Linked DNA regions of Homo sapiens: regions 1 and 3 are each linked to region 2. Evidence: promoter capture Hi-C in 16 types of primary human blood cells and fetal thymus (Javierre and others, 2016). All regions are on one chromosome and are shown on one strand. The core of a region is centred on a gene start or on the middle of the fragment in contact, and the rest is flanking DNA. Distances in the headings are between cores, read along the strand shown. Region 1 overlaps PDLIM5 (PDZ and LIM domain 5). Region 2 holds the start of HPGDS (hematopoietic prostaglandin D synthase). Region 3 overlaps PDLIM5 (PDZ and LIM domain 5).

Region 1 (3,540 bases), core at 74-2,573, 260 kb after region 2:
TTGAGAGTACCAGAAATTCCCACCTGAGGTTTAGTTGATTTAGTTTTCCAGAAGGGAGATCATAGTTACAAATGAGCAAACTCAACATATTTATTGTCAGGAAGCCAGCAGAAAATACTTATTTTTTTCACATGCCTAGCAGTTTCCTTGGCTAAAATAAATAGCTTTGCTATGCCAGTGAACCCCAAAAGGGCAGAATCTAGCTATGACTCTGATATATTCTAGTTTCTGCTTAGCAATATTATTACATAAAAGTTTGCTTTGTGGAAGTAGAATACCAAGGACAATTTATTGTCATTTTCCTCCTTTACCTTTTAATAAAACGTATATTTCAAGGTTTGTGAATTTTTCCTCTTATTGAAAACTCGTCGTGTGGGTATGTAATAAGTCACTAGTCTATTTGATCATTTTATCATATTTATATTCAGAAATAGGAAGCATTTAAAATTTTAATTGAAGATGCCATTTTTATGTTGTAAAAGAAAATGTTTGCATTATTTTTAAGATTTTTTTAAGGTTCGCCTTTGTGACAGATTTCTTCTTAGAACATAGTTTGCATATAATTCCATCAAAATCTGGATGACCCAAATTAACATTTTGAAATTTTATTACTGATAGAGAACTTTACCATCCTGCAGCCTGGTTTCTTTTTGAGACGGAGTTTCGCTCTCTCATCCAGGCTGGAATGCAATGGCAGGATCTTGGCTCACTGCAACCTCCGCCTCCCAGGTTCAAGTGATTCTCCTGCCTCAGCCTCCCGAGTAGCTGGGATTACAGGCACCCACCACCACACCCAGCTAATTTTTATATTTTTTTTAGTAGAGACGGAGTTTTGCCATGTGGGCCAGGCTGGTCTTGAACTCCTGACCTCAGGTGATCCACCTGCCTTGGCCTCCCAAAGTGCTGGGATTGCAGGTGTGAGCCACCACACCAGGCCCCTGCAGCCTGGTTTTTGTTCTCCTCATTCCACTGAAGTTATTCTAACCATGGGTGCCAGTACAGTAGCTCCACCATATACCAAAGTACTAACTTTAGTAAATTACCAAGGATAATTTTAGTACCAGGGTTGAAAGATTATTGGAAGGATTAAATATGATGATACATATTAAGCGATGAAAAAATATTTGCTTTTATTATTAACAAATGATTTACATGTAAGTTAAAAAATGAAGTAAAAGTAATAATATTATCATTAATGACCAAGAGCCTGAATCCTGGAAGAACTTAGTTTGTTCAAGACATTGTACAGGTAGTCTAATGTGACTGGAGTTCAGTGAATAAAGGGAAAATTGGTGTGGAAAGATAATTGAGAGGTTGATCATAACAGGTCATTTGGGGATTTTGTAGAGAATGTTAAGCACTTTGGGTATTATCCTAACTGCAGTAGGAATTTGTTGCAAGGTTTTAATCAAAAGAATGATTTGATAAAATGTGTTTTGTTGTTTTTTCTTAAGGCACATGGGCTATACTAAACCATGCCAGAAAACACAGGGGCTGGAAGGGGCAGGATTTGGCAAGAGAGGAAGCAAGAGAGCAGTTAGACAGTTCTTAAATCACTAGTATAAGTTAGTGCTTATCATAGTCTGGATGAGAGAGGGTGGTAGCAGAGAAATGGGGTAGATGGATGGCGTAATGAGAAAAACTTGGGACTGTAATGCCCCCCCAACCCTCCGCAAACTGGGAAAACTGGGACGTTGCCAAGAGAATGACTCAGACAAGTCCAGCTTGATGAGTAGATGAGTTTATTAGGACATACATACAGGGCACTGCTGGACAGCAGCAGTATGGCTCCAAGAGATCCACACCGCCTCCCATCTCTAGGCTGCTTTTAAGCTAATTTTCTGGCTCTTTGCCGTGTATGTGTGTGCGCACGCGCGCGTGTGTGAGTGTGCTGGGACTTTTTTCCTTGGTATATTCCCAGCCATGCCTCAGGATGTTTGCGTTCTCAGGGACCCCTGCTTCTCGGCTAGGCACCATGGCCTTAGCTAACTGCCTGGCCCTCAAGTTTCAAGCATTGAATATAACACCCTTAAGTAACCTGGTAGGGGACCCATCACACCACTGATAGATTAAAAATATAAATTTGGAAGTAGAGTCATTTGGACATGGTGAAAGATGATTTGAGACAGAGAGATATTAGAGGTATTAATAACTAAAGGGCAATTCAAAATATGGGCTACTGCTCATAGGAGACAGCTGGGCTAGATATAAATCTGGACATTAGGTGGTGTTAAAGCTACAGGACAGAGTAATGTCACTGTACTAATGATAGCAGAGTACAGAGAAATAAAGCCTAGGACAGAGAACTCTCGGGCAACAGAATAGCCAGTGAAATACTACTAAAAACAGGCAGGTAAATAGGGTTGAGGCACAAATGACAGGAAAAGAGAAGCAGTAGTCAATTGAGCCAGACACTAAGTAAAATGAGGAATGTGCACAAAAAGACAAATATTGTATGATTCCACTGATAGGAGGTATCTAATGTAGTCATCTTCGGGTCAGGCTTAGGAGGTATCTAATGTAGTCATCTTCGGGCTGGGTGTGGTGGCTCACGCCTGTAATCCCAGCACTTTGGGAGGCCAAGGCAGGCGGATCACTGGAGGTCGGGAGTTCGAGACCAGCCTGACCAACATGGAGAAACCCCGTCTCTACTAAAAACACAAAAATTAGCCAGGCGTGGTGGCACGTACCTGTAGTCCCAGCTATTCAGGAGGCTGAGGCAGGAGAATCGTTTGAACCAGGGAGGTGGAGGTTGCAGTGAGCCGGGATTGTGCCACTGTACTCCAGCCTGGGTGACAGAGTGAGGCTCCGTCTCCAAAAAAAGAATTAAAGTAGTCATCTTCATAGAAACAGTAGAATGGTGCTGGTTACCACAGGCTAGGGGGAGGGGGAAGGGGTAGTTGTTCAATGGGTATAGAGTTTCGAATATGCAAGATGAAAAACTTCTGGAGATCTCTTCCACAATAATGTGAACGTACTTCACACTACTGACTGTGCACTTGAAAATCGTTAAGATAGTAAGTTTCATGTTATGTATTTTTTACCACAGTTTTTAAAATGAGGAATGCAAATTGTCCATTGAATTTAGCCACAAGAAGGTCATCAGTGACCTTAGCAAGATGCAGTTTCATAGAGTGTTGGGGGTTGGGGTCTAGTTGAGATGGCTGAAGACTGACAGTCAAGTGAGTATAATGTTATTTCAGAGTCTGGCTGGTAAGTGGAACAGGAAAATAGAAAGTAAAGATAGTCTGTTGTTTTTAAGAGAAACTACTGCATTTTAAAAGAGGACACAAAGCATCCAGTAGAGAAGGAGAGATGGATTAATCGAGGCCACTGAGATTAAGGGAGGAGATGGAGTACACAGCATTAGAATGTTGCTCTTGGGCAGTTGTCCGGACTAGGGGATAGAAAAAGAATTCTTCTTACTGGTCCTACAGGATGGTAAGGATGGTAAATTAGTAGATGGACAACTCACACCTGATTTGCTGGACAGATTGTTCACAAGGGTCCGTAATGAACAAGTGCAGAGATGGTGCAGAA
Region 2 (3,740 bases), core at 1,030-3,529:
TCTCGATCTCCTGACCTCGTGATCCGCCTGCCTCAGCCTCCCAAAGTGCTGGGTTTACAGGGGTGAGCCACCGGGCCCGGCCCGCCCCCCTCCCTTTTTTTTTTTTTTTTTTTTTTTTTGAGACGGAGTTTTACTCTTGTCGCCCAGCCTGGAGTGCAATGGCGTGATCTCGTCTCACCGCAGCCTCTGCCTCCCGGGTTCAAGCGATTCTCCTGCCGCAGCCACCAGAGTAGCTGGGATTACAGGCACCAACCACCACGCCCGGCAAATTTTTTTCTTTTTTTTTTTCTTTCTTTTTTTTTTTTTGAGACGGAGTCTTGCTCTGTCGCCCAGGCTGGAGTGCAGTGGCGCAATCTCGGCTCACTGCAGCATCCGCCTCCCGGGTTCAAGCGATTCTCCCTGCCTCAGCCTCCCCAGTAGCTGGGATTACAGACGCCCACCACCGCGCCCAGCTAATTTTTGTATTTTTAGTAGAGACGTGGTTTCGCCATGTTGGCCAGGACCTCCTAACCTCAGGTGATCCGCCAGCCTCGGCCTCCCAAAATGTTGGGATTACAGGCTGAGCCACCTCGCCCGGCCAAACTTTTTTTTCTTTATAAATTACCCAGTCTCAGGTATGTCTTAATCAGCAGCGTGAAAACTAACTAATACAATGCTGATTTATTTCATCTGATTAATTCAATCCCAGAGGCAATTTTAACATAATCATTGAAAAAATTACAAACTTTTATAATAAAACAATTTAACAATATATTATTCCGTATACTGCTGTAAAAGCACAGTAAAAAATAGTCTCAAAAATTCTAGTCTCTGTGCCAGAAAGATGACAACAATCCAATTTCAACTCTCTGACAACACAGGCTAATCAATATCCAATGCCTATACTAAACATCTTAATAAAGACTTCAGCCGAAATATTTTTAGTTCAAAAAAGAGAACTTTTGGAATAATTTTGTTAGATAGAAAACTTACAAATGAGGAATTAAGTATTGACCATTCTACAGTTCAATACAAAATGTTAGCCAACGTAAGCTCTTACTCTTAAATACGACACATCAAGAATTCAAACATATTTGGGCATTCCAGACACAGTTTTTTACATGCTTAGTAATTGCGCAATAATCTGAGTTAGAGATATAAAAACAAAGATTACTTGTGAATTTGCTATAGCTCTTCTTTGAGTTTAAGATGCAGATCTTAACTTGCCCAGTAATAAACTTATACAAAATGTAATGGCCTAGAGCATGTTTACACTCCTATTATATAGACCCTGGTGTTCTGAAATGTAAAAATTGGATTCAGACAGCAATCATGTGAGATACTATTGTTCACAGGGGAACTTCTTGCATATACTGACATTAAAACAGCTTTTTATTACCCCTAACATTTGATGGTAAAGAATGTTAATTTCCCTCATTTCACAGTGTCCCTGGGCATTTCAAGTTCAATTCTGGAAAAGTTGCCAGGTTGGAGTTAAATTATAGGACAATAGAGAAATAGAAGAATTGTTGTTGACTGAGTAAGATATTGATTTCAATCAAGCACTGGATGTTTAACTTTGAATTAGCAAGCTGAAAGCTCTATTTTTTTTTTTTTTATCAAATATCAACTAAATGTCATTTTAAGTGACTGTTTCACATTAAAGCCAAAGCAAGAGGAATAACTGAAATATCCTTTGGGAGCTGTGAGTTGAAATTCCTGGCCTGGGGTAAATCCCTTAAACCATCTCTGAAGCCAAAAGATGATAGGTTGCAATTCTTATCAAAACATGGAGATGCTTCAACAAAATGTGCCTTAAAATAATATAAAATATTACCAGTAAAAGTCTTAAACTTTAAAGCAAAGGAAAGAAATTGAACAGCCATGAGATAATATTCTCTACTCCATCAATCCAAGTTATTGAAGAATCACTTGGGAAAATTCTGGAAGTAGTAACAAACCCTGATTAAGACAGGATTTTTCCTCTAGCATTGATTATATTTTCTATGTTAAAATCCACTTGAAGAGATCTTCTTAAATCTCCTGTACCTATATTTCCTTAAAAATGACTATTTGAGTTTCACATATTCGCATATATGGAGAGGTTCTGGGTAAGACAAGGTCAGAGTGAGCACCATCATGAAAATAGCTCACAAGACAGTTAGTCACAAACAGGATATGAGAATAATAAAAACTCTGAAGTAAAGAGTAAAGCATATCTCATTTATTACCTATGTGGAGTTCAGTAATATGACTTACCTGTGTTATGTCTCTCGGGAGTCTGCAGTGTCTTGTATCCCTGGGTATGTGACTGTGCCTTGGGTTTATATGACGAGTAAGTGATAATCACGAGCCAGTGAGAGGACAGGCAACTTCCTTCTACCTAACGCTCTTCCTTCTTTTCTTAGATAAAACATGCATGCCAGGCAGTTCAAGCCTGCGAAGACTGCTGGTTATACAGGATATCTGGGTATAAATAAACCAACACATTTGTATACAAGGTAAAGTCAAAGTTATAGCTGCATATGTATGCCCACTGTTACATGTTCACTTATTTTCAGTTTTACACCATAGGCTCCTGGAGAATAAGAAAACCTGAATGTAATGAAATCATCTTTGCAGATGTGCACATGACTTGCTTCTCTATTTTAGAAACAGTCTCTCCTGTACCTGCTGTATGTTCCTTCGAGGCAGTGTCTAACAATGTGGTGTATTTAACTTGTTTGTTTTTGGTTTCTCCCAGTGGAATGTAAGCTCTGTAAAGGCAGGCACTTCACTGTCTTTTTCACTATTGTCTCCTCAGTTCTAAGAGGAGTGCCAGGCATGTCATGACCACTAATATACATCTGATGATAGAATAACCCTAATTTATAGTTCACGTTTTTGCAAGGACTGTAAATTTGCATTGTTGCTGGTTTATTTCATTTACTCTCATTTCTCAGAAAAGCCAAAGTGTTTAAAGTAAACCTGGTGTAGAAGTTTCCAATTCATCTTGTTTGTGATCCTTTTACAATTTAGTAACAAATGCCTGACATTTTAGAAATTTATTGTTTCACTTCTTAGTGCAGGAATTATTTTTATCTATAATATTAGGACAGCTCAGTGAAAAGATCCAATAAAATGCCTGCCTGGGCCTTACTGAGCCTGAGGATTATCCATGAAACATTTCAATGACCAGCTGGCTTTCAACTTCCAGAAAATTACTCCCACAGGCAACAATAGCAACATATCAATCATTTAATATTTCTTATTTCTAAAGTGCTTTTAATTTTGAAAAATATGTTTACATCCACTTAGTATAAACGTCAGAAATGAAAATAAATGTAAATACTAGTATGTAAAAAGAGAAGACGCAAGTGTAGCCCTTTACCCACCAAAAAAGGATACATGTGTGTCAAAATCAAGTGCAAATGGGATGGGAGTGGGAGCTATACAAAATTAACACAATGCATTTATTATCTTTGACAGCTTTAACTTATATTTTCAAAAAAATCTTTTTATCCTCACCTCAATGATTTTTAATCCCTATTTTTATAAATGAGGAAACTGAGACATAGGGAAATTAGGTAAATTGCCTGCGAATTTTTGTTGGGACAAGCTAGGATTAAAATCTAGGCCTTCTGATGACACATTTAATATTTTTCCTTACATAATGCTGCCTATATATAATACGAGACTGCTTCAGTTAAAAAAAAATCAAGTATACAAAAAATAACACTTTTCTCATTTTGTATTACAATTTTATCTTTTACGACCAGTTG
Region 3 (3,216 bases), core at 105-2,604, 280 kb after region 2:
AGATCATCATGACTTCATTGTAGAGATTAAGGTTGGAGACCTGGAGACCATTTAAGAAGTTATTCAGGTAATCCAATCTGGAGATAGATAATGAATATTGCCCTGGGCAGTGGCAGTGTTTTGGAGAGAATTCCCTGGGCAGGGTGACTGCAGGGTATTTACACTTTAACCTAACTGGGCTGCTGGTTTTAACCATTGCCCTCTCTGGGAACTTGACTCCCTATAGAGTACCTATGTATCCTCTGTTAAAACACCCGTGGAGGATTGTATTCAGTTTATAGCATATTAGAATGCTACCTTCATACTTTCTTTAATTGTGTGTACACACAACTCCCAGTTGAGCCCTGTTTACTCTCATGTCCCTGGTGTTGACAAGAAATTAGTGGATATTATTAAACGTGTCCATGGAGGCAGGCATTCTACTGAGGAAAATAAAAACATATATTGATATTAGTTGATATGATATTATGGCGATATACTCAAGGCAGTAGTATTTTATCATTTAATATTAGACTTTTTTTTTTTTTTTGAGACAGAGTCTCTCTGTGTTGCCCAGGCTGGAGTGCAGTGGCGCTATTTAGGCTCACTGCAAGCTCCACCTCCCAGGTTCACGCCATTCTCCTGCCTCAGCCCCCCAAGTAGCTGGGACTACAGGCGCCCGCCACCATGCCCGGCTAATGTTTTTGTATTTTTAGTAGAGACGGGGTTTCACCGTGTTAGCCAGGATGGTCTCGATCTCCTGACCTTGTGATCTGCCCGCCTCGGCCTCCCAAAGTGCTGGGATTACAGACGTGAGCCACTGCGCCCGGCCAATATTAGACATTCTTAACCTCTGATAGTCCGTATTGAACAGATAACAGTTTCTCTATGCTCTTGTTGAGGCACCATTCCCTTTATGTGAATTAGGTGATATGTATATAAGCTTTATCTTAGTGATTTGCTTTTCTCTGTGAGACAGTTTGGATATGTAGTAAAGACAAAGGCTCTTAATTGACAAGAATGTAAAAACAAAAGTTTATGATTCTTTTTTAGAATATAAGTTGTTTTGTGTTTTGAAGAAGCATGATACAAGTAAGCTATACATATAAAAGTTGTGACCATTTGAAGGTCTTTTGGGGACAGTATAAATTTCTTTTGATCAAACGAAACGGGAAAAAACACAAACTTGCTTTTCAAAATGAATAGTTAATTTTTGCTTCTGTTGTACCCCATCTGAGGAGTTTTCACCATCCCTATTTGAGGATTGGGAACTCATGAATACAATGGGCGGCCTAAAAGGAACAAACATTTAACATTTAACAGTAGAATGATGACTATCATTGATTAGTAGTAATCATTGTTTTTGTAATACTTTCAGTTGTAACAGATATTTTTATAAGAATGCACAATAAGGTAATGTCATTAAAATTTAAAATTTAAATAGGCATTATTTAATGAGGTAGCAGTGTCTGAGAAAAGTCAAAAGAATTGTTTAGAGTTCTGTAGTGAGTTGAACCCAGCTGTTTTGACTCTGAATACTGTATTTTCCTAAGTCAAAAGACAGTATCAGTGAACGTATTTAAGGAGGACTGTATCTGTTAGGGATGGGATAGAAAGGATTCTTGCCTTGGATAATAGGGAGCTTCAAGTGACTGGCAACTGCTAAGATCTGTTTCAAGTAACATTTTCTTTGCATCTAAACTCCGTTTTTGAAATTTAGATCATTTGGCTAAGATTCTAGTTAATGTGTTTTTCTTTTTTTTTTAATCATACCCGCTTCTGGTGTGTGCTACATTTAGCAATAAAGAAAAGCTTGTTTACTTCATTGTAGACTGAGCTTTGGAGAGATCTGATATGTTGTTTCGGTGTTTTTTTGTTTTTTTTTTGTGAGAAAGACTCAAATATATTTGTGAGATTTGATTAGATCAAAGACTGAATGATGTGCATCTCAGTTATAAGTGGATATAAATTCTATCTTTTATTTGAAGTCTAAGGGAGATAGGGGTGAGAAAGGAAATTACTGTTTCTACAACCATCCCAAATTTCATTGTAGGCTTTGCACTACAGTAATAAATCGAGATAACTAAATTTGCCTAGCTAAGATGGATAGATTTATTGGTTCCATTTTAAAATTTTTATATGAATAAGTAAACTGCTACCAGTTGCGTATATTTCATCTCTTCTAATAATGTTTTATTGCCATCTGCTCCCCTGCATTTTGACATCATTAAACTAAACAGCCCTCTTGCCGTAAAGCCCTGACTGGAGCTGTCCATTGTCAAAACTGGGGTGTGAAACATGTAAATATGCCCATCTCCTTACATAACAAGTAGATTTTTGTTTCTGATTCTCAGGAAAAAATAAAAGTAACAACCATTAATTGCCTGTTTTCTTTTTCTTCTAATTGTTCCTTCATTGAAATTTATTTGCGTGTTGGAAGCTTTCCAGTGCTGATGCAAGGCTTCATCTGTGAAAGCTGTTCTTTCTCCCCATTTTCTTCTCTTTCTGAGATTAAAATATTAAACTTTTTATAAGGCAGACATCTACATTTGTTCATATATGCTTTTCATAAAGAATTGTTCTATTAATTGATGCATATGGTTTAAACCAAAGTTTGGCAAATGGTGTTCCTTGGTCACATCTGGCCCACCACTGATTTTTGTGAATGAAGTTTTGTTGGAAAACAGCTACGGTACGGTTGTTTACGTATTGTTTATGGCTGATTTCATGCCACAATGGCAGAGTTGAATATTGCAAGAGTCTGTAAGGCCCACAAAGCCTAAAATATTTATTCTCTGGCTCTTTACAGAAAAAGTTTTGTTAACACTGGTTTTCAAACGCATGAATAAGAATAACAATGCTTGATAATTCTGCATGGTTAGTTGCAGACTTTATTGACAGCCATCAGCACCCTTGGTAGCACTAGTCCTGAGATACTGTGATTGCCTATTTGCTTGTCTGTAGTGTCTTTAAGAAGATAAACTCTTTCTGGGCAGATATCTTATCCTTAAATGTATCTTCCACACCAGAAGAATTCTTACATCTAAAACGTTGTATGTACTAAGTAGTTGTTGAATGAGTGGATGTTTTATTTTTTAACTATGTAAGATCTTATGTCAGAGTGTAATAATAATTGACATGTATGAAGCATTTCTTACAGATTCAAGGAAGTATAAGTAAACACTTTTACTACTTCATTGAATCCTCTCACCCTTTGAGGTAGTTATTATTGCTGTT

Evidence for each region. The method cuts DNA at HindIII sites, captures the fragments that hold promoters and counts their contacts. A CHiCAGO score of 5 or more calls a contact.
Region 1: a fragment that was not itself captured here is called in contact with the fragment with the promoter of HPGDS in region 2 in 3 of 17 cell types (M0 macrophages, M1 macrophages and megakaryocytes); the score reaches 7.1 in M0 macrophages.
Region 3: a contact is called between a fragment that was not itself captured here and the fragment with the promoter of HPGDS in region 2, in 1 of 17 cell types (M2 macrophages). The highest score is 5.3, in M2 macrophages.

What each region holds. Positions count from the first base shown.
Region 1 is chr4:94,601,819-94,605,358 of GRCh38, forward strand. The region is part of intron 7 of PDLIM5 (PDZ and LIM domain 5); the gene reads left to right. Among named protein-coding and RNA genes, the nearest start is that of PDLIM5, 150 kb to the left of the region's middle. The HindIII fragment of the contact is 5,985 bases long and covers 1-3,540 here.
Region 2 is chr4:94,340,557-94,344,296 of GRCh38, forward strand. It overlaps HPGDS (hematopoietic prostaglandin D synthase), which reads right to left and starts at 2,280. Exons shown (of 6, transcript NM_014485.3): 1 at 2,239-2,280. The HindIII fragment of the contact is 10,951 bases long and covers 1-3,740 here.
Region 3 is chr4:94,624,942-94,628,157 of GRCh38, forward strand. The region is part of intron 8 of PDLIM5 (PDZ and LIM domain 5); the gene reads left to right. Among named protein-coding and RNA genes, the nearest start is that of BMPR1B-DT, 130 kb to the right of the region's middle. The HindIII fragment of the contact is 869 bases long and covers 921-1,789 here.